Linked DNA regions of Homo sapiens: all the other regions are linked to region 3. The links are contacts of gene promoters, found by promoter capture Hi-C in blood cells and fetal thymus (Javierre and others, 2016). All regions are on one chromosome and are shown on one strand. Each heading gives the region's core, a stretch centred on a gene start or on the middle of the fragment in contact. The rest is flanking DNA. Distances are from core to core; before and after follow the strand shown. Region 1 overlaps LNPEP (leucyl and cystinyl aminopeptidase). Region 2 overlaps RIOK2 (RIO kinase 2). Region 3 holds the start of GLRX (glutaredoxin). Region 4 overlaps ERAP2 (endoplasmic reticulum aminopeptidase 2).

The links. The method cuts DNA at HindIII sites, captures the fragments that hold promoters and counts their contacts. A CHiCAGO score of 5 or more calls a contact.
Region 1: a fragment that was not itself captured here is called in contact with the fragment with the promoter of GLRX in region 3 in 1 of 17 cell types (non-activated CD4 T cells); the score reaches 6.1 in non-activated CD4 T cells.
Region 2: a contact is called between a fragment that was not itself captured here and the fragment with the promoter of GLRX in region 3, in 1 of 17 cell types (total CD8 T cells). The highest score is 5.9, in total CD8 T cells.
Region 4: a contact is called between a fragment that was not itself captured here and the fragment with the promoter of GLRX in region 3, in 2 of 17 cell types (activated CD4 T cells and non-activated CD4 T cells). The highest score is 7.8, in activated CD4 T cells.

The regions. Positions count from the first base shown.
Region 1 is chr5:96,947,832-96,953,542 of GRCh38, forward strand. All of the region lies in intron 1 of LNPEP (leucyl and cystinyl aminopeptidase), which reads left to right. Among named protein-coding and RNA genes, the nearest start is that of LNPEP, 15 kb to the left of the region's middle. The HindIII fragment of the contact is 1,886 bases long and covers 767-2,652 here.
Region 2 is chr5:97,173,900-97,179,472 of GRCh38, forward strand. It overlaps RIOK2 (RIO kinase 2), which reads right to left. Exons shown (of 10, transcript NM_018343.3): 2 at 5,156-5,294; 3 at 3,833-3,949; 4 at 3,217-3,392. It also overlaps the pseudogene RNU1-73P. Among named protein-coding and RNA genes, the nearest start is that of RIOK2, 6.6 kb to the right of the region's middle. The HindIII fragment of the contact is 736 bases long and covers 3,344-4,079 here.
Region 3 is chr5:95,819,307-95,824,925 of GRCh38, forward strand. It overlaps GLRX (glutaredoxin), which reads right to left and starts at 3,420. Exons shown (of 3, transcript NM_001118890.2): 1 at 3,150-3,420. The coding sequence starts at 3,356. RefSeq lists enhancers at 1,792-1,931, 3,848-3,937, 4,168-4,668. The HindIII fragment of the contact is 7,969 bases long and covers 1-5,619 here.
Region 4 is chr5:96,879,050-96,884,906 of GRCh38, forward strand. It overlaps ERAP2 (endoplasmic reticulum aminopeptidase 2), which reads left to right. Exons shown (of 19, transcript NM_022350.5): 2 at 515-1,211; 3 at 4,743-4,881. The coding sequence starts at 637. It also overlaps a transcript of ERAP1 not described here. Among named protein-coding and RNA genes, the nearest start is that of ERAP2, 5.5 kb to the left of the region's middle. RefSeq lists a silencer at 5,427-5,601. The HindIII fragment of the contact is 1,199 bases long and covers 3,896-5,094 here.

The sequences.
Region 1 (5,711 bases), core at 460-2,959, 1.1 Mb after region 3:
TGAGTGCTTTGGGTTTAATTCTATTTTACTGAAACCAGAGAATAATAGGATTCAAATCTACCTAATTTTTCTATTTTTCTGATTTTCCATTTTTCTCTTTTTGAATTTTTTCCTTTTCACATTACTTTAGTAATTTGTTCTTCATCTCTTATTTTTATCACCTAGACAGAAAATATAGCAAAGCATAAATCATTTTTCAGGTCACCATGCTTCATTCTTCTTTTATTGGGGAAGGGGCAGTGGTGATCCGGGAAGAAGCATAGTGTAAACATTTTAATACAAATTTCTCTTTTTTTTTTTTTTTGAGATGGAGTCTTGCTCTGTCTCCCAGGCTGGAGTGCAGTGGCACGATCTCGGCTCACTGCAACCTCTACCTCCCGGGTTCCAGTGATTCTCCTGCCTCAGCCTCCCGAGTAGCTGGGATTACAGGCATGCACCACCATGCCCGGCTAATTTTTATATTTTTAGTGGAGACAGGGTTACACCCTATTGGCCTGGCAGGTCTCGAACTCCTGACCTCAGGTGATCTGCCTTTCTCGGCCTCCCAAAGTGTTGGGATTACAGGCGTGAGCCACCACGCCCAGCCCAGATTCTTCTTGCATTCTGTTTTAAACTGCTCCCATTAATAAGTATTTTTATTTGTTTTGCTTTTGACTTGTGCCCGTGTATCTTTTTAAAAAACTATTCTATTTTCAAAAAGATGCCCTCCCAAATAGATACATTAAATGCATTAAAATATTCCTTTACTGTATGCTACCTTGTTCTAAGCTTTGTTCTTAAATTTACAAATATTAACGTAGCATGGTCCCTGATTTTGAGGAGCTTACATTCTTGTGGAATTGTTTCTCGAAAAGATTATTAATATGAACATACAGACTAGCATCCTCTCCAAAAACCATCATACTTTGAGAATTATAGGTCCAGTCCCACACCTTTTACTGGAGATACATTTGGTTTTGTAGCTTTTTTTCTTTTTTTCCATTTTGGAGATCTATTTATAAATCTACCTTATTTTGTTGACTACTGTATAGTATAGTATAATAGTGAAGTGAAAAGTTCAGACAGCCATATTCAAATCCTGGCTCTTTATTCACTAGCTCTCTGATTCTTAAGGATATTACCAGAATATCTTAATATCTTTAGTTAAAAACCTAAAATGTACATTCAAAACTTAAAACTTTTTTGAAATTAGCAGTGGTCTAAGATAAGTGGTGGTTTGAGCATATTCCAGCCTTAGTGAGGTTTTGAAAAGCTGGGAACTAATGGTGTTTCTTGGATCCTAATTCTTTACTAAGGGCTTGAGGCCATTATAGGAGGATTCTTTCCATTTCATATTTATTAACAATTTTGAATTTGCAACACTTTCATGGAAGTGTTGCCTAAAGCATGGGTCCCCAATTTGCATGTCAAGGACCATGCTAGGAACTGGGCTTCACAGCAGGAGGTGAGCAGTGGGCAAGTGAGCGTTACCGCCTGGGCGCCTCTCCTGTCAGATCAGGGTGGTATTAGAGTCCCATAGGAGCATGAACCCTATTGTGAACTGCACTGGGGAGGGATCTAGGTTGCATGCTTCTTATGAGAATCTAATGCCTGATGATCTGAGGTGTTACAGTTTCATCCCAAAACCATCATCCCTTCATGCTCTTGCCTCTGTCACTTCCGCCACACCCCTGTCTGTGGAAAAATTGTCTTCCACAAAACCAGTCCCTGGTTCCAAAAAGGTTGGGAGCCACTAGCCTAAAGAGTAGAGGAACTGTACATTCCTACATCCAACTTAATTCTGGCCCAGGTATGCTTTCATGGTGCCTTCAAGAAAATGCAATATGCAGCACCTCATTATTCATACAAATAGGTTCTATTTGTTCAGCCGAAAAACATTAATTACATATAGCAGACAAAAACACAGTTCTTTTATATTTGCTACAATGGTTGGCGTCTAACATAGTGTTTTGTTGCACACATATTAGATGCTTAATAAATGTTATCTGAGAGTAATATTACTCCAAACAACTCCAAAACAAACATTTAACAGTTTTGTTTGGACTCTTAAATTAGAGGTCAGTCAGTCTGTCTATCCTTCCGTCCTCCTTCCCTCCCTCCCTCCTTTCCTTTTCCATCCTCCCCCTCACCTTTCCTTTTTCTGTAAACTTTTCCATAGCAAATAGAGTAATTCCAAATCATTTTTTGGAACATTCTTATTAGTGTTCATTCAGCTTCCCTTTCCACTGAAATGAATTTATTGAGTACTTGGAGTATTTCAAACCCTATGCTTTGTACAGAGAAGACAGTGCTAAATAGGAAACCCTCTCAGTGTTAGAGGGAAAGGAAGATGATGTGGAGGGAAGGAGTCTCTTACTCTGAAGCATTTTCAAAATCAACATTAAAGAGTGAACCAACATTTACCTCCTTTCTTCTTTCATCTTCTTATTTCATAGCTAGAGAGCTGCTGTGCGTTTGAGACCTAAGTGGTGCAATTAAATCAATTTCTCTTCCTACAGTGCTGCAAGGACTTCTGGCTGACCTATATTGGGGCACTTTGCTCTTCATTAGAGAGCCACAAAAACAATTCCCAAGCCAATTAAATTCAACTTTTAAAAAGGAATTTCCTAATATACCATAGAGTTGGTGAGAAGGCAATGAATGGGTCCCACAAGCTTTCATGTAGCCTTATGGGAAGAGTAAAGGTTAAGCTGTGTCATGGTTGTCAACTGGGCAAAGCCACTGAAAGGCAGGACTCTCTATTAGTTGACGTAACAAAATATTAATAACTAGTGTTATGAATTAGTTGCAGTATGAGCTGAGGTATGAAAGCATGAATTTTAGACCTGACACTATCCAGGAGGGAAAAAAGTGGATGTTTCTGTACTGATGTTAATCAAAGGTTAAAAATCAAATGACATTTTGAGGAAAACAAACCTAAACAACTCATTAATGGCCACACAACTTAAATTATTGTGTGCGGTACTATGAATACGTTGATTCACTACTTCCTTCCCGCTTAAAATCTCCATTTCTCCCTACTCCTTAGTATATTTATAGAGTAATTATATGGGAACATAGTATAGGCAGTGTAGTAGTCTGCTCTGGCTGTTAGAATGAAGTAATACAGACTGGGTGGCTTCGACAACAGATATTTATTTACTTACAGTTCTGGAGGCTACTAGTCCAAGATCAAGGGGCCACCATAGTTAGTTTCTGGTGAGGGCTCTCTTTCTCACTTGCAGAATGCTACCTTCTTGCTGTGTCCTCACATGGTCTTTGTTCTGTGCATATGTGGAGAGAGCGAGCTTTGCTGTTTCTTTCTATCAAGGACACCAATCCTATTGGATTAGGGCTCTACCCTTATGACCGAATTTAACCTTAATTACCATCTTAAAAGCCCTGTCTCCAAATGCAATCACAATGGGGGTTAGTGCTTTTTTTCTTTTTTTGGCGGGGGGCGCGGGGGACAGAGTCTTGCTCTGCCACCCAGGCTGGAGTGCAGTGGCGCGATCTCAGCTCACTGCAAGCTCCGCCTCCCGGGTTCACGCCATTCTCCTGCCTCAGCCTCCCAAGTAGCTGGGACCACAGGCGCCCACACCACGCCTGGCTAATTTTTTGTATTTTTTAGTAGAGACGGGGTTTCACTGTGTTAGCCAGGATGGTCTCGATCTCCTGACCTCGTGATCCACCCGCCTCGGCCTCCCAAAGTGCTGGGATTACAGGCGTGAGCCACCGCACCTGGCGGGGGGTTAGTGCTTTAATATGTGAATTTGCAGGGTGTCGGGGGCGGGATGGGGGATACAACTGTATCATAGGAGTCTTCACTTTAGACAGTTTCTTTCTGTGAACCTCAGGATAAAGAAAATTACTTTTCCACAGGAATAAGTTTTTGGAGTTTACATTCCTGCCTGAGGATGTTAAAAGAAGCATCTATAGTTAAGTTCAATTTTTTTTTTTCTGGACACAGTAATTCAGGATGATCCAAAAAACCCCTTGTCCCATTTTTGTCCTGCACTGAAGCAATTCAGACTTTCTGTATTTATTTACTTTGTGTATTTACTCTATATGCTTTTAGTATACTAAACTTGCATGTTTGGATCAAGATGTCTGGAGAGTTTGGGAGTAGTTTATCTTCGAAGGCAGAGTTATGCTTCTCAAACATTTTGGTTTTAGAATCTCCTTTACACTCTTAAAATTTTTTTTATCGAGGACCCCTAAGAGCTTTTGTTTGTATGAGTTATTTCTCTAGATATTTAAAAATTAACACTAACATTTTAAAAATATTTATTTAATAACAATAAACACCTTTTACATATTAAATAAAATTTAAAAAAAAGAGAATTATTATTTTCCAAAACAAAAGGATTAGTGAGATGCATTATTTTTCATTTTTGCAAATCTTTTTGATGTTTGGCTTAATAGAATACAACTGGATTTTCAGATTTGCTTCTGCATTCAGTCAGTTGTAATAGCACAAGTCATGTAGCCTGTGGAAAACTCTGCTGTACACTCATGAGAGAAGTGGAGTGAAAATGGCATATAACATATTATGATGAAATAGTTTTGACTCTGAAGGCCTCCTGCAAGGGTATCAGGGATTTCTAGGTGTACCCATATCACATCTTGAGAACATTAATCTTGCGTTTTTCAGGAACTGGAGAGGAATAGTTTAGGAGTCCACAGAAGGTAGAAAGTGGAGCTGTTGGAATTGGGCAGCAAGTTTCTTAAGATAGATCTAGGTCACAGGAGGGGAATGTTCTGGCCAGGCATATTTGACTGGCCACATTATCAGATGCCTTGGTTATGTGCGGATTCTACCGTCATTTATTTCAGCCCTAGATGGTGCTAAAGTAGAGAGAGACAGATTTTTCTTAAACTATTGCCTTTAAAAATCATTTATTTTTATCCCCATTTTTTTTGTTTATATCCAAAGGGTTTTCAACAAGCTGCCCCTTTCCCAACACCCCAGCCCCTCAACGAAAACATAATAGAGACACATCATTTAATTTCTCAGCCCTTTCATGATCTCTTAGACTAATCTTAGTTTTCATAAATTAAAGGCCTACTTGGCTAAGTTCATTTACTTTTTTTTTCTCCTACTTTTCTTGATCTCTGGACCCAGGAATCCCAGATGATACAAAACCCTTTGTTTCATACCTGCCCTGCCATAGAATGATCTAGACCTTTAAGAGGACTAGAATCAGCCCTCTTTTTCTGGGCTTTCTGGGGCCAGGAATGACTAGGATTGATCTGCTTTCTCAAGCTTTGCCCCGGGCCTAACCAGGTCAGCCTGGGACCAGCCCGTGGGGTTTGACTATACCTGGAACAGATGGTTAATCTATTGGCTTGCTATAATGTAATTTCCATTTGGCTGGCAGTAGGGAAAGGAAGGTACTTCCTGTAAGCTACACACTGATTTTCATCCAGGTGTTCACACATACCGGGTTTTATGAAAGAGAGCTTGACCCTCGCATTCCTGATTAGCATTTTGTTAGTGTGAAAGTAAGGTATAGACACAGAGACAGGTATAATCACAAAATGGTTGGAGTCTTTTATTGTGTCCTTTTCTTAGAGCAAATTTAATAGAGGAGTTTGATTAGCACCTAAGACTTGCTTAAAACTGAGTTACTAATTCTTTTTCCATTAATAATTGCTACCTCTACCCTCCTTCTCCCACGTTTCTCAGAAACCCAGACATCCCTGAGGCCATTTAAAGTCCTGTTTATGCC
Region 2 (5,573 bases), core at 2,462-4,961, 1.4 Mb after region 3:
GCCCTGTTATTACTTTCTTTAAAATACCTTAGATTTATGCCCTTTGACATTTAGAATGCTAGTATTAGGAATGGCAAAAACTGCAATTACTTTTGCACCAACATATACTTGTAAGGAGGCATATACCTCATTACTCCACAAGTGTTCTAGCTCTTGCCATCATACCTAACCTATTCTATGTACCAATACCAGACTAACCTGCTGATGTTAATATTCCATTTAAAAATATATACATTGGGATGGGCATGGAGTCTCACGTCTGTAACCCCAGCAATTTGGGAGGCCGAGGCGGGTGGATCAGTTGAGGTCAGGAGTTCGACACCAGCCTGCCAGCATGGTGAAACCCCATCTCTACTAAAAATACAAAAAAATTAGCCAGGCGTGGTGGCACATGCCTGTAGTCCCAGCTACCTGGGAGGCTGAGGCAGGAGAATCGCGTGAACCCGGGAGGCAGAGGTTGCAGTGAGTTGATATCGTGCCACTGCATTCTAGCCTGGGTGATAGAGCAAGACTACACCTCAAAAAAAGTTTTTTTTTACATTGGCTGTAAATTTTCTTTTCAGTTTGTAAATATAAACTTTTCCTGGTTTTCAAAACTCTTTAATCCACCTGTACAGTCCTAGTTCTCCCAATATTCTCTCCAATACACACCAAGAAACGCAGTCAGGACAGTCACCTCAGTGTCACCTAAACACATAGGACTCACATAGATTCATGTCATTGCCCATACCACTTCTCTGCCAAAATGCACTGTCTTAGGGTCAAATAATATCCAAGCTTCATGGCTCCACTCAGCTCCACTCACTACCTGAAACCTCCTCCATCAACTATTCTATCACTTACTGAAGTTTCTCTAAATTCAGTATATAATTAAAAAAAAAATTGTTCTTAGACTTGCAGTGGTGGCTCACGCTTATAACCCCGGTACTTTGGGAGGCCGAGGTGGGTGAATCTCTTGAGGCCAGGGGTTTGAGAGCAGCCTGGGCAACACAGCAAGGTCCTGTCTCTACAAAGCAGGCATGGTAGCACATGCCTGTGATCCTAGATACTTGGGAGGCTGAGGTGGGAGGATGGCTTGAGCCCAGGAGGTAGGGGCTGCAGTGAGCCGTGATCGTGCCACTGCACTCCAGCCTGGGTGACAGAGTGAGACCTTGTCTTGAAAATAAATAAATAAATAAATAAATAAATAAAAGGTTCTGTTTCATGTGTTATCTTCTCAACTTTAAGACACAGATCGTACTGGTTATTTCTTTGGCATCCACTCCTTCACCCTACACTACCCCAGCAATTAATTTCAAAAGGTTGTCTATTGCTTACCTTCTGTGAACAAGAACCAAACCACTTCCCACTTCCCAGATATTTTTCTTTGCTTTGTTTTTAAATACTTTTTTTCAGTGTAGACCATTTTGAGCATACCTAGACAGATCAATAGCACGTGATAAACTTAAAGATTGTGAATATTTGTCTAGAACTTGTGCTATCGCCTAGACCTCATGCTATAGCCCAATCTTTATCTTCTTGTTCCTCTCTTATGAATAATCAATACATTAAGGAGTGCATTTATGTGCAACCAGATTCCATTCCTATACCTTCAATATAAATATCCTGAAAAACACCTACTACCCTTTTGGGAAAATGTGTAAATGATCCCTACCAAGCTGCTCATTTACTGACTGAATATTACAAGATACAAACTATTAGTATAAGAAGTACATTGACATGTATGGTATCAGTATTACTAATTTATGCTGCCTTAAGAAATCTCCCATGATTAGTGAAAATTTAAGTATATAACCCACTCAAAGAACAAGCTGAATCCTCAAGAAACAGGTGTTCACACACTGTAGCAATCTTTAATTCACATTGTTTTGAAAAATGAAGATAAACTATGACAAATCCTACTGGCAGGATTATAAAAACACAATATTATCTTTTGTTTAACTTAGTTATTGTTGGATATATTTAATTTGGATATTATTATATTTAACAATCTATGCTGAACTTAATTTTGAAGGCAAAGTTAAAAATAAAGGATTTTTTTTTTTAATGTCAGGGGACAGTATAAATGTAGTCCGCCAGTGCCACAAAATATGCAGTCAAGTTCCAATATTTGGGGAAACTGCAGGGGTCAGCACACCTGAAGTGCAATGAATAGGCCTAACCCTGAGAAAACCGTCTTTGAGATTTTGACATTTCATCTGCCAGGTTAAGCATTTTTTTCTATTTGTATAAATGTATGAGGTACATGTAACATTTTGTTAAGTATATATGAGAAGTCATCAAGTCAGGGTATTTAGTGTGTTCATCTCCTGAGTACAATACATTTTGTTTACTATAGTCACCCTACTCTGCTATCAAACATTGAATGTATTCCTTCTAATTGTATGTTTGTATCCTTTAACCCACTTCTCTTCATCCTTACCTCTTAAAAACTAAAGATTTTTACCATTTTTGTTTTTTGAGACAGAGTCTTGCTCTGTTGCCCAGGCTTGAGTGCAGTGGCACAATCTTCACTCACTGCAACCTCTGCTTCCTGGGTTCAAGTGATTTTCCTGCTTCAGTCTCCCAAGTAGCTGGGATTACAGGTGGCCACCACCATCCCCGGCTAATTCTTGTATTTTTAGTAGGGATGGGGTTTCACCTTGTTGGTCAGGCTGGGCTCCTTACCTCAAGTAATCCGCCCACCTCGGCTTCCCAAAGTGCTGGTATTATAGGCATGAACCACTGCACCCAGCCAATTTTTACCATTTTTAATATACATATAAATCTATAAATGTTTGTTCCTTTATGTGAAACAAAAAACTAGCCAACTTATCTGAGACACTAAGGTTTCTACAGATGATAATTACCTGGTGTTTTCAATTAGAAACAGACATATGTATAGTTACATATATTGAATAGATATATATACATCCACACATACATATTTGTGAGGTAACAGCATCATTAATTACTTTTGGCTCTTTCATCTTGTCAGCATTACAGAATGTGTTGCCCTTATGCATTAGTAACAATTTAAAATACCTTAACGTAGAAGGAAATCACTTAAAAGAGCCCAAATAATCAACAGAGTTATTTAAGATTGAGTCTGTCTGTAGGAATTGAGTCTAAGGTTAGAGAGATGTGGGGACAACAGAATCACACTTGTCATTAAGGCCTTTGAGACACATGTATTATTTGGCTAAAAAATGCATGACTACAAAATAAAATAAATACCTTCATATAGGCAAATTCCTTCATGGCAGAGAGACGAGATAAATATAGCCATGACACATTGTGCCTATGTTTATGATAATCGCGTTTGTTTTTCAAATTTCGAAACGAGGTTCTTCCTAGTCTGTGAAGCTTTAATGCAAATTGTTGTCCTTCTTCATTTGCAACAATGTAAATATCTAGAGACAAAATTTCAAAAACAACCATTATTACACGTTTATTCCAATCAGTTAAAACAATTCTAACTTTCTCTAATTTTATTTGTATCAAAAATGTCATTTTTCCTAATAAAGATTGAGTATCCCTCCTTATCCAAAACCTTCGGACCAGAAGTGTTTTGAATTTTGGATTCTGGTATATTTGCACATAAATAATGATATATCTTGGGAGTTATTAGAAGAAAATTAATTCCTGGTATAAATGAATTTTCAGTGATAGACGTTCAGAGAAAATAATAACCTACTAATTAAGGACACCTTCTGATTTGTACTGCTTCCAATCAACTTTCCAACTTACTGTTTAGTTAGAAAAAAGGGAAAATTAAAAGAGGAAAGGTTTCTGAAGGGAAAACATAAACTAAAGCAAAGAAAATACTTTGCACAGTACTATTAGCACTTACCTGATTCTTTGCCAACACCCATCTGGTTTCCAACAGACTCAACTACTTGCCTAGAAGAAAGTGTTTTCAAAGCTAGGTAATCATATCCTGCATTTGTCAACCGATAGCCCTGGACAGCTAGACAAAAATCAAAGCATAAAGACCATATTTCAGTTACATTGTACAACCAAGTCACGTAAGTTCAAGTCATAAGAAAGATTTAACAATAAAGTCTTCATTGGAAAAAGATAAACTGCCCAGGCTCACAAGCTTCCAATTTCTTCCTATAATTTGCATTTCTTCTCCAGTGTACTGATAATCAAAATGTGACCTACAGACAGGTCTGTAAGTGTTTGTGACAAGATAAAAGGAGGAATTTAAGTTCAATTTGTATATCAATTTGACCTAGAATTTATGTCTGTTTTTGTATATCTGTTATCCATTTCATTTTTCTAGTAATTATTTTTTTGTATTTTATAAAAGTAAGGATCTGTGATAGGTTGGAAAAAACTAATCCTTCACCACAGATGGTTTCAGAAGTAATGATCTAGGGTATGACTACTGATTGTATTTTCCAAAGATGGTAGCCACAATAGCTTTATCCTATATGCTCTTCTGCAGTACCTACATGCTCTTCATGCTCTTCTACAGTACCTACATGCTCTTCTGCAGTACCTACATGCTCTTCATGCTCTTCTACAGTACCTACATGCTTTTCTGCAGTACCTACTTGCTCTTCTGCAGTACCTACATGCTCTTCTGCAGTACCTACATGCTCTTCTGCAGTGCTCTACCTGCTCTTCTGCAGTACTCTACCTGCTCTTATGCAGTACCTACGTGCTCTTCTGCAGTACCTACGTGCTCTTCTGTACTCTACATGCTCTTCTGCAGTACTCTATGTGCTCTTCTGCAGTACCTACGTGCTCTTCTGTACTCTACATGCTCTTCTGCAGTACTCTACCTGCTCTTCTGCAGTACTCTACCTGCTCTTCTGCAGTACCTACGTGCTCTTCTGCAGTACCTACGTGCTCTTCTGCAGTACTCTACATGCTCTTCTGCAGTACTCTACATGCTCTTCTGCAGTACTCTACGTGCTCTTCTGCAGTACCTACATGCTCTTCTGCAGTACCTACATGTTCTTACTACTATTCTTTTTTCACCTCCTTTGATCTGGGTGTGCCCTGTGATTATTTTGACTAATAGGATATGGCCGAAGTGTGTTCTGTCAGTTCTTCGTCTAATGCTTTACTAGTCTGGCAACTTCTACTTCTTGACTTTTGGAACACTTGCTCTGGTGGAAACCAATTACCTGAAAAATCACAAATGGTGCCTCAAAATACTTACTTTTGGTACGCTCCCAAGCTATGAGTTTATGTTTCACTAATTCTCTTAAAACTTTATTACAGCCACCATGTTTAAGGCTGGCTATAGAAGCAATCAAACTGCCGGGAACAATTTCATGGTTCTTCATGCCCATTTCAACCTGAAATTAAAGGAATCATTATATAATCATAATCAACACAAAGCCTTGTCTATCAAAACCCTGCGAAATTAACTTCTCCTTGAAGCTTTCCTGACTATGCAGTTCTCCAACTAATTCTGAGACATAATCACTTCCGTCTCTTGAAAATATTTTTAATTGCAATTTGAAATCTAATCATTGATATTTGTATTGGCTTTCCATTTCAAGAGTAGGAACTGTGAGTGCTAGACATACTGATGACATTTGGTCAATGCTAAAATACTTGATGACACCTAAACA
Region 3 (5,619 bases), core at 2,170-4,669:
AAATACTTTCTAAGGTAAACAAAACTTGAGGGAATGTGTTACCAATGGAATCACCTTGCAAGAAATGCCCAAAGAAGTTCTTCAGAGAGAAGGGAAATGATATAGTTCAGAAACTCAGATCTATGTAAAGAAAAGTGCATTAGAGGAGAAATAAATGAAGGCACTAATTTAGGAGCTGTGACTATAGCAAAACAAAAACAGGTTTTACCAAGTACATGGCTTGATTGAAGCCACTAACTTTCCATAATCATGTCCTGCTGATTACCTACTAGATACAGCTACTTTATAGAATAATTAAGACTGCAGGATCAGGCCGGGCGCCGTGGCTCACGCCTGTAATCCCAGCACTTTGGGAGGCTGAGGCGGGTGGATCACGAGGTCAGGAGATTGAGACCATCCTGGCTAACACAGTGAAAACCCGTCTCTACTAAACATACAAAAAATTAGCCAGGCATGGTGGCAGACGCCTGTAGTCCCAGCTACTCGAGAGGCTGAGACAGGAGAATAGCGTGAACCCGGGAGGTGGAGCTTGCAGTGAGCTGAGATTGCGCCATTGCACTCCAGCCTGGGCACAGAGGGAGACTCCGTCTCAAAAAAAAAAAAAAAAAAAAAAAAACCCTCGGGAGCTTTCAGACCCTTTGAATACAAACACTTCCCTGTTGGGGATCAAACATGCAGCTTTAAAAGGCTTGTTCTTCCCCTAGGAGGAATGCACTCAGAATTCAAGAATCTGTGAAAAACATTTTTCTAAAAATGAAAAACAGGCTTGTTGAGGTGGATCACATCTGTAATCCCAGCACTCTGGGAAGCTGAGGTGGGAGGATAGCTTGAGGCCAGGAGTTCAAGACCAGCCTGGGTAACATAACAAGACCCCCATCTGTACAAAAACTTAAAAAATTAGCTGGGTATGATGGCTCATGCCTGTAGTCCCAGCCACGGGAGGCTGAGGTGGGAGGGTCACTTAAGCCCAGGAGTTCGAGGCTGCAGTCAGCTATCATTGCACCACTGCACTCTAGCCTGGGTGACAGAGCAAGACTCTGTCTCTTAAAAAAAAAAAAAAAAAAAAAAACCTTAAAAGATTACTACAAGAAATATTGTTGTTCTACAAAGAAATGAAAAAGCAATTGTTGACCAGGTGTGGTAGCTCACACCTGCACTTTGGGAGGCTGAGGTGGGTGGATCACCTGAGGTCAGGAGTTCGAGACCAGGTTGGCCAGCATGGTGAAACCCCATCTCTAATAAAAATACAAAAATTAGCTAGGTGTGGTGGCAGGTGCCCGTAATTCCAGCTACTTGATTGCTTGAACCTGGGCGGTGGAGGTTGCAGTAAGCCAAAATCACACCACTGCACTCCAGCCTGGGCGACAAGAGCGAAATTCCATCTCAAAAAAAAAAAAAAAGCAATTGTTAAATGAACACATGAAGAGGTTTGCTTTACCTCCTGGAAAATAGATGCTGTTGGGCTGAGAACAATAATCCCAATTGTGTTGCACATTGGAATCCCCAAGGGATTTTTCCAAATAAAAATCCCAGGTGTGGTGGCTCACCCGTTTAATCCCAGCACTTTGGGAGGCCGAGGTAGGTGGATCGCCTGAGGTCAGGAGTTCGACACCAGCCTGGCCAACATGGTGAAACCCCGTCTCTACTAAAAATACAAAAATTAGCTGGGCATGGTGGTGGGCGCCTGTAATCCCAGCTACTTGGGAGGTTGAGGAGAACCCAGGAGGCAGAGGTTGCAGTGAGCCAAGATTGCACCATTGCACTCCAGCCTGGGTGACAAGAATGAAACTGTCTCAAAACAAACGAACAAACAAAACTAATGCTTGGCTCCCACCTCTGACATTGTGATTTAGTTATTGAGGGGCATAATTTGGGCATAAGGATTGTTTTAAAAGCTCTCTAGGTGATCCTAATGTGCAGCAAAGTTTGGGAACCAATGGCTAAAAGGTCCTCAGGGTGGCAGCCACAGTGGGGCCCGTAGTAGTGTTTGCACTGCCCTTTACACCTCTCAGGGCCTGGGCATCCTATGCAGCTGGTGGTCCCACTAGGCAGCAAGAGCTTCTCTCGTCATTGTGTATACTCCAGGACCTCAGCACACAGCAGTAGGATAACACACTAAGCCCCCTTTCTGCACCAAAATGCTGACTTCTTATTAGAGAGAAGGGGAGAGAAACAACCTCCAATGCTTTATACTCAGAACCCAGAGACAACCTTGTAAGTCAAACTAAAACTGAAATAGGATATGTGCTTGGCCTAACACTGTGCTGTAGAATTCGTGCATCGTAAAAGAGAACTTAGCTGAGCTGGTGGGACATTTCTCATCCCACCTCACAGCAGAACTGATACAGGTGATGTGGCTGGCATCCCTCCTGAAGCCCAGGACGCAAAGCCAAGGATGCTGAAGAGAGGGAAGTCTTTCGGATGGAGGAGAGCAATTTTTAGAGGGTCCCACAGTCTATTCGTAGCAAATGGGACTCTGAGGTCACCTAATCTGGTCTTGCAGCTGGGATCTTTGAGGACTACTGGGGTGGTGACTTGCCCAGGATCACACAGCCAGCCATTATAAGAGCCAGGCCAGAACTCCAGGCTATGATTCCCTACAATGTGGGGCCTGGAAACATCCATAATTAATTTAGAACAAGGGGCAGATAACGGTACATTAGATTTTTCCAGTGGGAGGAATTAGATAAGGAAGAATGAGCAAATTAGAAAAAGAAAGCCTAGAGAAAAGAATGAAGAACATGAATCTCATGTTAAATAACAAACACATCACACCCGGCCCTCCACCCCAGCTTCCACCTCCAGCCCTGCCAACTGAAAACTGTCATTTCCTGGCAGTGCTTAAAACAAAGACTCTAGATAATTCCCCAGGGACTCACCGGCAAGCTGCTGGTCCCACTTACCCTGCCGCACAGCAGACATCAGCTGTACTCCCTCTTCTGCCCCGTGAAGACCTTTGGCTGCAGTGCCGCCGCTCATTCAAGTGACCGAGATCCTCTCTAAGGCGCCCTCCCCCACACCCCCCGCCCCGCACAGCCCTCTGGACGCCTTGAAGTACGGAGCCGCAGCCTTATCCTAAAGAAAGGCACAGCTCTGACAAGAAAAGGCAATCCGGGAGCCTTTCCCTAGCCGTTTAAAATGAAACTCACCGTTCTTGCTCCCGTGAGCTGTTGCAAATAATCTTGAATCTCGTTAGTGTGGTTGGTGGCTGTGATATCGACAAATTCCAGAAGCCCTTGTTTGATGGGCAATTGACTGAGGATCTCTTGGGCCCTCCTGCAGTACGGGCAGGTGGGCTTGATGAACACAACCACCTTCCCAGGCTGGATTTTGCAGTTCACAAACTCTTGAGCCATGCCGATGGGCTGCGGTCTCCCCGGGAAGAATCCTCAGTTGCAGGTATTGCTTGGGGTATTGAGCCCCGACCCAGCCAGTTGGCTCCTATTTAATAAGGAACCTCCCTGGAGGCGGAGTTTGCCTGGTAGCTTGCTCGAGTTTTAAAGGGACAGCTTCGAAGACATTTCCATCTGGTATACTTCACTAGTTAGCAATGCCCAGGAATGCAATACTTGCTATTTAATCATTGGTAGCTATGAAAGACACTCTGGGTATCTTTGTTGTCCTTGGACATTTGGGGAGTGCCTGCCCATTGGCAATGATCAGAGTTTAGTCACCTCTGGGGAAGCATAAAGTGCTTACTCACAAAGGGGCTGAGGAGGCAGTGACTTCTTAGAGCAAATTCTTGTTTTCCCTCTAGGAGATACAGTTGTATTTTAAAATGCAAACAGAATCACTTAAGAAACAGAACACTTGGAAATCTCTTTAGAAGAAGTGAAATTGAAACTGTGACTTTGCACTCCTCATGAAGGTTGCTCTCACAGCATTTTGCTTGGACTGTATGGTGGGTGTTTGTTGTTGTGATCTTTTTAATGGAATTCATTCTCAGTATTTAAAAATCTGGAGGTCTCACAAAACAATTCGGACTTAAAACTTCTCTCTGAAAAGTCAGGTCGGGCAATACAGAGCTTGCACCTTTTAGTGGAAGCTGCTGGGGCTGACAGCTGTTGCCCCCTTTGTATAGGGCAAGTAGTGGCTTTGGTTTGCCACAGGTCCCAACGACAGGCCCATGCCTGAGACACCGGCTTCACCCCATAACCATTTGAGTTGGTAACCCTTGAACAGCAGTTTAATATGGAGGCAAATTCCAACACAATCCTTGATACAAAACTACAGATGAAATGAGAATCTTTTTTTCTGGTTGAGCCTATGTTTGTGACCCTCTGCTTTTAACTGTTTGTGAGGGGAAGTAGTGTTGTAACTCAGACACCACATTCACTTCAAGTGTTATAAGACACGGGTTGTAACAGTAGGAAATCTTTCGCTCTTCCCCAGGGTGCCCATTCTCCTTATCCCGCAAAGCAAAGTCCTCTACTCCTGGGTCTAGTTCCGGCCCCCTCTAGTGTATGGTAGCTTAAATAAACAAATCAAGGAAAAACTATGTCCTTTAAACGTGAATCATCCTTTCCCCAGGAAGTTTTATGGTGAAACCAGAGTATCTTCAAAGAGGCGGGGCCAAGGCCAGAGCTGGACACCACGACTGCCACGTAAGAGGAATCCCAAGCATACTGCGATCAAGGGAAGGGAAGAAAATCCACTCCCAGAAGCAGCTTTTTACTGTGACTCTCATCGTTACTAGAATTAAAATGGCAAAATGAGAAAGCCAGATTCTGAGTCACGGAGGGGGAGCTAAGTGACAGCTCTGTCCAGAGAAAAGGATGTGGCAGGGCTGGGAGGCCCCTCACGTGGTCAGGGCTCCGGACTTCCCACTTCCCACTTCCCTCCAAAGTAGGCTCTGCCACAGAGTCTGAGCCTCCTCTCTTTTTTCATTCTTTTACCTCAGAACCCTGTGGCCAGGCTCCTTCCAGAGGCCCCTGCCAGGAGGTCCAGGGTCTGTTTCAGGGCCCTCAGGCTGTTGCCTTAAGTTCCCTCAGCCTGAGGTTTATCCACACGACTTGCACCTGCTACTCACTCAGAGCCTTTCTCTTCTCCGGTCTGTTGTTGGCTCCTCCCTTCCTGGTGCCTCAGCCTGCCACTGTGTTCAAGTTAAAAGCCACCACCACCACCACCACTCCCCATTTCCTGCTTTCCTGCCTCTGCCCTTTCATGAAATTTACTGTCTGTACCTTTCTCACCTCCATTCTCTCATTTTGTTGTTATCTGACCTTGTCAACCATTCTGCTGAATTGTTGGCAGACACTAATCATGGCCTCTATGTCACCAAATGACCATTTAGCTAGGTATCCTGACCTTTTGCAAATTAGTCACCTGCCCCAAGAGGCTGGGATCCAGGGAGACTATTGTCTGCCTCTCACTCAGTCCCGGGGACTGCCTGGTGTCTGAAGCCTTAGGACAGATGGCCATAAGGCACAAGCTAAAGGCAATTTTTTTGTGAGGCACCATGTGGAAAATGGGAGACAAAGAGATGGCAAAGAACGGGTGTCCTCTCCATTTCTCAGAAAATGCTGTGGCTTCAACTCAGTGAAAAATGACAAGCATAGAAGCCTCTGCTGCATTGTACAGCAGGAGCTGAAACCCAGCATGGACCTTAGGGCATCTCAA
Region 4 (5,857 bases), core at 3,245-5,744, 1.1 Mb after region 3:
CCCCCATCTCTACAAAAAAGGTAGCCGAGTGTGGCGGTGTGTGTCTGTAGTCCCAGCTACTCTGGAGGCTGAGGTGGGAGGATCACTTGAGCCCAGGAAGTTGAGGCTGCAGTGAGCTGTGATCATGATTGCACACTCTACTCCTGCCTGGGCAACAGAGCAAGACCCTGTCTAAAACATAAATAAATAAACAAAAATTTAAAATATAACCAAATGTTAAAAACATTCAACATGCAATGAATTTACACACCTGCCTTCTGCTCGCTGCACAAGAATTCAGAAGAAATTCATTACATTCAATTTTAAGGTAGGGTTTTTTGGGGGAGTCCTAAAGGGTTTTTATTTGTAATAACCAGATAACAGCTTAATTTCTGCTCTATTTTGTGGATACTTGGCCTAATTCTGACAGAGAGCAGATTTTCCCTTACTCACACATACCTTTTTACATGTTTAAGATTTTATTTGTAAATTGAAATCTTTTTTGTCATGCTATAAGTGTGTTTTTTTCTTCTAGATTAAATTCATGTATTGAAAATATTGTTCAGACCCCATGTGACATAACTGGAGCCAGTGCAGTGCCATGAAGAACTACGAGATTAGCCTGGATATTAACTTGTCTTCTAGAGAATAGATTTCATGTTCCATTCTTCTGCAATGGTTAATTCACACAGAAAACCAATGTTTAACATTCACAGAGGATTTTACTGCTTAACAGCCATCTTGCCCCAAATATGCATTTGTTCTCAGTTCTCAGTGCCATCTAGTTATCACTTCACTGAGGATCCTGGGGCTTTCCCAGTAGCCACTAATGGGGAACGATTTCCTTGGCAGGAGCTAAGGCTCCCCAGTGTGGTCATTCCTCTCCATTATGACCTCTTTGTCCACCCCAATCTCACCTCTCTGGACTTTGTTGCATCTGAGAAGATCGAAGTCTTGGTCAGCAATGCTACCCAGTTTATCATCTTGCACAGCAAAGATCTTGAAATCACGAATGCCACCCTTCAGTCAGAGGAAGATTCAAGATACATGAAACCAGGAAAAGAACTGAAAGTTTTGAGTTACCCTGCTCATGAACAAATTGCACTGCTGGTTCCAGAGAAACTTACGCCTCACCTGAAATACTATGTGGCTATGGACTTCCAAGCCAAGTTAGGTGATGGCTTTGAAGGGTTTTATAAAAGCACATACAGAACTCTTGGTGGTGAAACAAGGTAAGAACTTGCTCAGGTAATTTACATTCTTTTGTGATAATTTCCTTACGAGTTACATCTCTTTGCCAGGAGCAGACTTCAGCAGCCATTTATGAGAAATCCAGTGAACTATGGGGAACCCAGAAGAAGGAAAAGATCTACCATTCCTTAAGGAAACCACAGTAGAGATGTAAAGACAGGACTCAGAGGCATAAACAGCTAGAGGGTGAATAACTAGGAGGAGAGGCCAGTATATGACTGATATGATAGATATGCTTATGTGCTAGGGAAAGAGATGGTCAGTGCAGAGAGGGCTGAAATAGGGAATGCTTCTCAAAGGAAGTGAGTCTTCATCTGGGACCAGAAGGAAATGTAAGTGAGACTGGGATTGGGAGAGAGGAAGTGACAAAGTATACATTGCCTAGGTAACAGCCATGACTCATATCGAATAGTCAGAAACAAGGAACTAGTTTGGAAAATTGAGAAATATAGTCAATTTGATCAAGTCACATTCATTGAGCACATACTATGTGCCAGGCACTGCACTAGGCACTGAATGTATAATGGTGGGATCTGATGGAAGAGACAACCAGGACAAGAAAATCAATAAAATTGGCAAGGTAATTGGCCAGTGTTATGAATGAAATAAAACAAGGTGCAAGAAAGGTAGAAAATGAGGCTGGAGATTGAAACTAATTCAGTTGACTGGGCAGGGAAGTGTTTGTTGAGGAAGTGAATTTAAATTGAGAGCTGAGTTTTTTTTTAAAGAGACAGTTATGAGAACATCTCGGGGCAAGTGCTCTAAAGTGGGATTGGTTGAGGAAGGCCAGTGTAAGCTGAGGAGAGCGAACAAGAGGGAGAAAGGGATCAGATCATGTGGAGCCTTGGGGCGTCTTGTAAGGAGTTTTGACTTTAACTCAGATGAAATGGGAAATCACTGGAGGATTCTGCTCTGATTTATGCTTTATAAAGATCAAGTCTATGTTGAGGGTATGTTATAGAGAAGCAGAGTAATCAATTGGGAGGTCATTGCAGTAGTTCAGGTAAGAAGTGATGCTAATTTGGGCCAGGCTAGTGGCAGTGCTTATGGAGTGAAACAATTGAACTTGGCAGTTATTTTGGAGGGCAAAACAACAGAGATTGCTGACATATTGGTCATGTGAGGTGAGGGAAATAGAAGAATCAAGGATGCTTCATAGAGTGGACGGCTTGGTTTCCCAGGGCCAGGATCCATCTGGGAGGTAAGAGGAGTCTGGCTCAGTGCACTCTCACGTTATGTGAATTGTGTTCAATTGCCAGTTGGAGAAATCTAAATTCCATGGCTTAACCACACAGGGGCATATTTTTCTCATGCAACAAGAAGTCCAGAAGTAGGGCAGCTCAGATTGCTATAGTGCTGTTCAGAGTCATCCAGGACCCAGGCTCCTTCTGTCTTTCTGCTCAGCCATCCTATGGCTTTCTTCCTAATACTTGCAAGATGATTGCTGCACCTCTAGGCATCAAGTCCACATTCTAGGCAGGAAGAAGGGGGACACGGGGGAGAGATAAGGGCAAAAAGAAACATTCCACTTGAATCTAACACTCTTTACAAAGATTTCCCACCCAATGACTTCAGCTAGACCAGAATGAGTCATAGCCTCACCAAGTCACAAGGTAGCCTGTAAGAAGTAACTCTCTTATCTGGACTTGTTGCCTTCCTGAATAAAATCAGGATTCCACTGGAACCAAGGAAGGGAAATGGGTATCAGGAAGTGACTAGCTGTGTCTACTACATCCTGCTCTTCCCTTCCCCACTTGGGTGCTCACTGCACAGCCTGCAGCCATCCACCTAGGACAACTCTTCCCCAGGCTCCTCTCTTTCCACATTCCCTTGGTGACACTTCCCCTCATTGCAGCCACAATCCTCAGGGGCTTGTTTTCAGGCTCAGCACAGTATTGGATAGGAAAAGTGTCAACTTCTTCTCACTAAGGCACCACATAAACAATGATGGCTTTTTTCATTTTTTTCAAATGCCGAAGGCCCCATCCAAAGGACATATATCTTAGGGATACTATTCTGGGAGCTGTGGGAGATGAGAGGGGGAGATATTTGGAGTAAAGCTGTAGGACTTTCCAGCATGCCTCCCGTGATTAATTGCAGGCTATTCCTGATGCTCCTTATGGTTAATTAGTCAGTTCCCTTCATACTCAGTCACCTAGTAGGTCTGACATGTATGATAATGTACTGCACAATGTCAATTGAATCTTATGAATCTCTCTCTCTTTCTTCCTCACTTCTTCATCTAAACTACACAAATAATTCAGTTGAAAGTGGTTCTTTTGAGATGCAGAAGGTCACACTTTGCATGTAGAGTTCCAATGAATCGTGTAAGCAACAAAGATTCAGGTTTTTTTGTTTTTTCAATGTAGACTTGTTACAACCAAAATTTCATGTGAGTGAAAATTATTCCAGCCAGTTAGAATTCCTTTACATTTGCAGAAACTGCTACCAAATACAAATAAAACCTTGAGGCCACAAGTGAATCATTTACATCCCTAGCCTCAGTTTCCCAGCCTGTGTCATAGAAATAAAGCAAGCTGAAGTAAAATATCCTGACAGCTTCTCTTTTTTCCCTCCTGACCTCTCTCTCCCTCTTATTTGAGCTATTCTATTCCCCCCTCCTTTTCCAGTCAAAATCTGCTCTCCAAATTCACTTCTTAATTGAAGCTTAAAGTCCAAAGAGTAAATCTGTAACTGTACAGTTTCAGGCATATCCTGGTGTTGGGGTAGAGAAGTTTATCAGAGTATATATCTATTATACCTGTCATCATCTGAAGAGTGGCAAGCAGAGAGAACTAGAAGTACCTGGGGGCACAGGTGCCACAGACAGACCATTAGCCAACAATGGTACAAGAATATGAAAGTCCAGCTCCTTGCCTCCAGTGGGGGACACGTGAAGGCGTAGTTTGCATCCCAGAGCTCCCTGGGAATCAGGCTGATGCTGGGACTTTGCCTGTCCTGCACCCTTGACTGGCTTCTCCCTTTTCCCTGTCCTGCTTCCCTCACTCCCTTACCTGTTTCTCCTGGCAGGATGTTCTCAATAAGTCAGGATCTGCTTCCTGGAAATACAACTTAGGACATCACTCATGTACACAATTACTCAAATGTCTATCTGAGGCCCTTTCAGGTTTAGAGACAATACTGAACATTTAATTTCCTAGTGAATTTTGAAGACATGTAGACAACATGTGTACTATTTCAGTCATTTACTGGCTGCGGATCCTGCTAAGGTCATTCAAGTTGTCTGAGCCTCAATATCCTTGTTTGACCTGAGTATGAATGAAATAATGTAATTAGCATTCCCAAAACAGGGCATTGCTTATGATTGATGGCTGCTAAATAAGATTTTACCTTCATTTTCCTCAAAGAGACAGTTGAGATTCACAAAGATTGCAGTTTGAGAAATCAAGTCTATTACCCCCAGGTTTGATAAGCTGTTTGCTGAATGTACAGATTCATTTCTCTTCTTGATTTCACTTGTGCATTTTGGCTGGGGGTGGGTCTTTTCACAGAATTCTTGCAGTAACAGATTTTGAGCCAACCCAGGCACGCATGGCTTTCCCTTGCTTTGATGAACCGTTGTTCAAAGCCAACTTTTCAATCAAGATACGAAGAGAGAGCAGGCATATTGCACTATCCAACATGCCAAAGGTATGTCCACTTCCAGAAACTTTTAGAAATTGTTCTCAAGTTGAGACTCAGTCTTCGTTTGTTTTTTAAAATTGCTTTCAGGATTTCAGCCATTAATTTGTTTTTATCTATCTATCTATCTATCTATCTATCTATCTATCTATCTATCTATCATCATAATTTCAATCATTCTAGACGTTAACATCATTCTGTTTGGGGCATTGTTACACAGGAAGCTTTTTTTTTCCCAAGCAAAGTGATTTATATTTTGTGTTCATATGGAAACAGTATCTTAAATCTGTGTTTCTTGGCCAGGGATGAAATTCAGAATTTCCTAGAGCAGTACTTCTCAAACTTTAGGGTCCAGATTAATGGTCTGAGAATCTTGCTAAAACTCAGATTCTGATTCAAGAAGAGGTCTTGGGTTGAAGCTTGAAGTTCTACCTTTCCAACAAGCCTCCAGCCACTGCTGACGGTCCAGAGACCCCTTTTGCAGTGGCAAGGACCTCAGGGACCCTGCAGGGCCCCAACCCAAGAAATTCTGATCTAGAAGTCTATGATGGAACTTAGAAATCCCCTCTTTTAAGTTTCACAAGTAATTCTTAAATTTATTTATGAAAATTATTAATTGTGGTTATACAAGTTTTTTGTTTGTTTGTTTGTTTTGAGACAGAGTCTCTCTCTGTTGCCCAGGTTGGAGTGCAATGGCGTGATCTCGGTTCACTACAACCTCAGCCTCCTGGGTTCAAGCAATTCTCCTCCCTCAGCCTCCCAAGTAGCTGGGATTACAGGCTCCCACCACTACACCTGACTAACTTTTTTTGTATTTTCAGTAGAGACGGGGTTTCACCACGTTAGTCAGCCTGGTCTCAAACTCAGGGACCCTGCAGGGTCCAAGTGCTAGTAGAGGCAGCATATCTTTTGGACACTTATTTGTCTCTTTCATCCTGTAAGGAAACACACACTCACTGGTGACAATTGCCATGCAAGTAAACTT